Linked DNA regions of Homo sapiens: region 2 is linked to region 1. The links are contacts of gene promoters, found by promoter capture Hi-C in human tissues and cell types (Jung and others, 2019). All regions are on one chromosome and are shown on one strand. The core of a region is centred on a gene start or on the middle of the fragment in contact, and the rest is flanking DNA. Distances in the headings are between cores, read along the strand shown.

What was found. The method cuts DNA at HindIII sites, captures the fragments that hold promoters and counts their contacts. A contact is called where the count stands out against the background at its distance.
Region 2: a fragment that was not itself captured here is called in contact with the fragment with the promoter of CBL in region 1 in 2 of the 25 tissues and cell types used here (liver and spleen).

Annotation. Positions count from the first base shown.
Region 1 is chr11:119,204,854-119,207,853 of GRCh38, forward strand. CBL (Cbl proto-oncogene) reads left to right here and starts at 1,486. Exons shown (of 16, transcript NM_005188.4): 1 at 1,486-1,759. The coding sequence starts at 1,565. RefSeq lists silencers at 994-1,063, 1,104-1,493, 1,564-1,753, 1,944-2,003. The HindIII fragment of the contact is 26,271 bases long and covers 1-3,000 here.
Region 2 is chr11:118,946,392-118,949,270 of GRCh38, forward strand. No RefSeq gene overlaps it. Among named protein-coding and RNA genes, the nearest start is that of UPK2, 8.5 kb to the right of the region's middle. The HindIII fragment of the contact is 7,281 bases long and covers 1-2,879 here.

The DNA.
Region 1 (3,000 bases), core at 236-2,735:
GTGTTGGCACTAAGGGATGGAGCTTTGCCTAGATTTTCCCTTTGTAGATTCTTCTCTTCCTGGATGGAAAATGATAAAAGGAAATTCTTCTGATAGTAAATTATAATGTTGACTCCAAAATCAATTCTAGATAAAGGCGATTAAATTGCAAACCCAGGATGCCTGTCTGAATGGTCCCTGCATTCAAAGATATTTTCCCCTTTACAGGAGCACCGGATAAATTTAACTCCCTAATCTGTCAAGGGCTTTGTGGAAGAGCCTGGAGGGGGATCGAAGGCGGAACTGATACTGACACACCTGGGTCTGCAAACTCCCAAAACTGAGGCTCAGAATTAGTAAATTAGGGCAGGGCACTTCCCTCTTTGGAAGGGAAGTTCCTATTTTCAAAGTTCTTCCAACGGAACTTTTACATTAGAGAAGTGTAATTGACTGAGAAGTGGAAGTGACCAGGAACAGCATTTCTGTTCCCTGGGCGGGAGAGAGAACCCCCTCGGGCGGAGCCAGCAGCAGGTCAGCTTCTGAGGGGGCCCTCATGCTGGCGGCGCCGACCTGTGGTGCAATGCTCTGAGTAGGAGAATCTTAAATACATGTTTGAGATTCAATTCCCAGAAACGTAACTAGTCTTCACAAGCCAAAAAAATAAAAATAAAAAATAAAAAAAGGAAGTGATTTCTTTTCAAGAGGTCAAAGGGCCTGGAAGAAGAGGTCCTGGCTTGAGTGTCTCAAGGCTTTCTGGGGCCTAATCCGGCTGGAATGGGCCGCAGCATTCATATTCCTGTCCTTGGTCGTGTCTTAATGAAGAATTGAAAATAATAAGGGGTGGAGAAATAACTTTCCTTTTTCTCCCACCATCCTCCCACAGTGTAAATAAACAAATAACTCTAAGCTCGATTTCCTCATTTGTCAGGGGTGGGGAAAGACTTGACATCAGGACTCTTCCATTCCATCGCCACCTGTCTTAATTTAAACATTCCCATGACCCACCCCAGAAGCGCCAACCTCCCGCCCACAAGGAGCATGGAAGTCTTGGTTTCTGGCTACTGCGCAGACTCCACCTTGGACCTACTCCCCAACCCCCCGCCGCTCCTTTCCCCGTTTCTCCAGCAGAGGGCGCAGGCCCAAAGGTTCCGCCGACCCCGCCCCAGCCTGGCCCCGCCCCGCCCCGGCGTAGGGGCGGGGAAGACGGGCACAGAAACCTGGCCGCGGCTTTCCGGGAGCTGTGGGCACGCGAGCTGCTCGAAGCCGGTGGCCCGGGGATCGTCGCTGCCCAGTCCGGCCGCGGCCGGCCGCTTCCCCGAGCTTACCAGTAAGCCGGTCCGCCTCCGGGACGCGCCCCGCCCGCCCCGGGCTCGCGCGCTCTGAAGGGGCGCGTCCCGCGCACTCCCGGCGCCGCCCACTCCCCTCCCCACGGCCGCTCCTCCCTCCGCCCGGATAGCCGGCGGCGGCGGCGGCGGCGGCGGCGGCGGCGGCCGGGAGAGGCCCCTCCTTCACGCCCTGCTTCTCTCCCTCGCTCGCAGTCGAGCCGAGCCGGCGGACCCGCCTGGGCTCCGACCCTGCCCAGGCCATGGCCGGCAACGTGAAGAAGAGCTCTGGGGCCGGGGGCGGCAGCGGCTCCGGGGGCTCGGGTTCGGGTGGCCTGATTGGGCTCATGAAGGACGCCTTCCAGCCGCACCACCACCACCACCACCACCTCAGCCCCCACCCGCCGGGGACGGTGGACAAGAAGATGGTGGAGAAGTGCTGGAAGCTCATGGACAAGGTGAAAGGCCGGCTGAGCGCCCGCTGTTGCAGGGTGGGCGTGGGCGGAGGGCCGCGGGGAGGGGAACGAGCGGACGGAGGAAGCGGGGGAGGGGACGGGTCTGGTGAAGCCGGGGAGGCGCGGAGCCGGGGTGACCGGCCGGGGGCGTGGGGGCAGGGACGAGGCCGGGAGGGTGGGGGGCGGCGTGGGGGAGGGGCTGCCGTTGGGAGTCGGGGAACGCTGGGGTGCCGCGTTTGGGGTAGCCAGACAAAGATGGAGTGGGGGCTGGGGCGAAGGTTAACTGGGAAGTCAGTGGGGCGGAAGTACAATGAGGGGTGCGGAGTTTGGGGCTCTGTGCAGGGTGTAGGGATGTAGGTCACGGAATTGGCCTGGGAGGTTAGCAGGGAGGGGGTGAGGAAGAGTGATGTACCGGCTGGGGCTCTTGGCTGGGTGAGATCTGACTAGGGAATTAGGTTCATGGGCTCTGACTGAGGAACCTGGCTGGGGTCAGGACAGCTCTCAGGGAAGCTGTGCTCTGGGTGAGAGTATAGTCCTTTCTCATTAAGATGTAACACGAAGATAAAAGACATATTGATGTTTAAGTGAGGCAAGGAAAGAACTTTCCTCCCCATCTAGCGCCGGCTCAAGTTTTTTGTTACCCTCAGAAACACTGGATGTGATCCATTGCTGGTGCTGAGATATGCACTGATTAAACCACAAGTTCTGGTTAGAACTATTATCTTCTGAAAGATGGACTGGCTGAGCCTGTTAAGCAGCAGCAGATTCTGACTTCTTAATAACTTCCTCCCTACTACATCGCTTGAGCTGGGTTCTTTTTTTCTGGTAACGGTTCTGACTCCTTATTACAGGTCCTGACTTTAAACTTGTTCGTTGAGCTTCTTTGATTACGCTTTTTTGTTTGTTTGCTTTTTGCAAGTGCGAACAAAAATAACTCCTTTATATTTAGCCACTAAGTTTGTCATTTGGGAGAATTTTACTTCCTTATAGTTGTGTCTATATGATGAAATGTAGTCAGTCTCAAGTATTTAACTGTTTAAGCAGTCGGACGCTTTGTCAGAATTCAATACGTTTTCTTGGTATTTTTCATATTCTTTAATTAATTACTTTGACAAAATTCATATTGCGTATGAAAAGTGATTAGAAGTATCTGGCACGTTTTAAGAGAATGGTGTTATTTCCTCCAGGGTAAAATTTGGTTTTCTTTGGTTCCTCCCTGGGCCTCGGTTCCTCTTCTGTAAAGT
Region 2 (2,879 bases), core at 222-2,721, 260 kb before region 1:
CTCTTGCTGTATCTGTCCTTTAAATGCTTTATTTCCCAGAATTCTGTCCTTGGCTGCCTTCTCCCACTCTCCTTCCACTGCTCCCCTCAAGGACTCTCTTCCACAGGCATGATTTTAACCAGTGCCACCTCCCCTGTCTGCATCCCACACCTCTCCTCCATGTTCCAGAATCCTATGCTCAATGTTGAGTTGCCCAAGATATTTGTATTCATTATTTTTTACTGTATAGTAAATTATCCCCCAAATCTAGTGGCTTATAAAAATAAACATTTGGCCAGGTGCGGTGGCTCATGCCTGTAATCCCAGCACTTTGGGAGGCTGAGGCAGACAGATCACTTGAGGTCAGGAGTTTGAGACCAGCCTGACCAACATGGTGAAACCTGTCTCTATCAAAAACACAAAATTAGCCAGGTGTGTTGGTGGGTGCCTGTAATCCCAGCTACTTGGGAGGCTGAGGCAGGAGAATCACTTGAACCCAGGAGGTGGAGGTTGCAGTGAGCCAAGACTATACCACTGCACTCCAGCCTGGGCAACAGAGCGAGATTCTGTCTCAAAAAAAAAAAAAAAGAATTTATCCTGAGAGTCAGGAGTTTGGGAGAGACCTACCTGGGTGGTTTGGGCTCAGAGTGTTTTGGGAAGCTGCAGTGAAGATATCAACCTGGGCCACAGTCATCTGAAGACTTGACTGGGCTGAAGGAATCGGTCTCCAATCTTGCTCATTCCCATACCTACTGCCTGGAAGTCTCACAACCTCATAGGTCTTTGGCAGGAGGTCTCAGTCCCTTGCCACACAGACCTCCCCACAGAGGAGCTCCAACATCCTCCAGAGTGAGCACCCCAAGAGAGGATGAGGAGGAAGGCACCCTACCTAGCCTCAGAAGTGATGTGTCATCACTTCTGTTGTATTTATTGGCCACACAAACCAATCCTGATGTGATGTGGGAGGGAACCATATGAGGACACGAATACAAGGAAGCAGGGATCATTCAGAGCCATGTGGGAAGCTGGCAGCCACAATACCTCAGACTTATCAGATCCACAAGTGAACTTTATTTTTTTTCTTTTTCTTTTTATTTATTATTATTATTATTATTATTATTTTGAGATGGAGTCTCGCTTCTTTGCCCAGGCTGGAGTGCAGTGGCGCGATCTCTGCTCACTGCAACCTCCGCCTCCCAGGTTCAAGCAATTCTCCTGCCTCAGCCTCTCAAGTAGCTGGGATTACAGGCACGTGCCAGCATGCCTGGCTAATTTTTGTATTTTTAGTAGAGACGAGGTTTCACCATCTTGGTCAGGCTGGTCTGGAACTCCTGACCTCAAGTGATCCACCCGCCTCTGCCTCCCAAAGTGCTGGGATTACAGGTGTGAGCCACTGTGCCCAGCCCACAAATGAACTTCCTTCTCCCCAGTCCTCCCTTCAAATCTGCTCCAAGCCATACATCTGGAAATTGTTCTTGATTCTTCCATCCTAAAATTACTCTGCAGTCAGTCACTGATTCCAGTCAATCTTTCCCTAAAATCACTGCAGTCTGTCTGCTTCTCTCCACTCCCATGTTCATTGCTTGGCCATGAACTTTTTCACCTGGATCATTTTGTTTCTCACTTAGTTTCCCTGCTTTATGTCTTACCTGCTGCCAATCCATTCTCCACACTGTTGCCAGAATGATCTTTACACATTTTAAACTCCTCTAAGGCTTGCTAAGAAACACGCTCCTTAGCGTGGGATACAAAGCCAGTGGCTGTAGCTCCCACCATGCCCATCTTTGAATACTTCTCTCCAGCCAAGATGTATTGTTTGCAGTTCCCAGAGGGTGTCAGCATAATTCACATCCCTAAGCTTTTTCATAGGCCGCTCCCTCTTTTTGGAATATGCCCTTCCACTTATCTCAACCAGGCTAACTCTGATTCATTCTTCAAAGCCCAGCAAGTTTTGAGAGCAGAAACTGTGTCTTGTCCTCTCTGTATCTCAGACCCTAATACAGTACCCACCATAGAGGAATTGCTCAACAAATGTGTGATGAGTGAACAAATGACCGGGCAGTTCTTGTGTGCCTGGCACCCCTGTGGCATGCTTGGCACACAGGAAGAGCAGGTCCACAGCTCAGTCACTTTCCCCCTCGGACTACCTTTCCCTGTCCAAATAGCTCCCTCTGCATCAGTAACACAGCTGGAAAAACAAATTGTGAATCATATCCAACTTCATTCCCTGTGACCTTGGGAAAGTCATTTATTGTCTCTAGTCTTCTTCTGCAATGAAGGTTAATAAAAAGATAAAGTGAATTACTTACATTAATGTTTATTGAGCCAGATACTGTGCTAGGCACTCATAAATAAATTCGCTTGAGGGGCCGGGCACATTGGCTCATGCCTGTAATCCCAGTACTTTGGGAGGCTGAGGCAGGCAGATCACTTGAGGCCAGGAGTTCAAAACCAGCCTGGCCAACGTGGCAAAACCCTGTCTCTACTAAAAATACAAAAAACTAGCTGGGCGTGGTGGCATGTGCCTGTAATCCCAGATACTCAAGAGGCTGAGGTGGGAGAATTCCTTGAACCTGGGAGGCAGAGGCTGCAGTGAGCCGAGTCATGCCAGTGCATTCCAGCCTGGGCGTCAGAGCCAAAATCCATTTCCAAAAAAAAAAAAAAAAAAATTGCCTTAGGGAGAGTCACAATATCCAAACGAGACAGGTTTTTAAATTTTATTTATTTAATTTTATTATTATACTTTAAGTTCTAGGGTAGTTGTGCACAACGTGCAGGTTTATTACATACGTATACATGTGCCATGTTGGTTTGCTGCACCCATTAACTCATTAGGTTCATTTACATTAGGTATTTCTCCTAATGCTATCCCTCCCCCTGCCCCCTACCCCATGACAGGC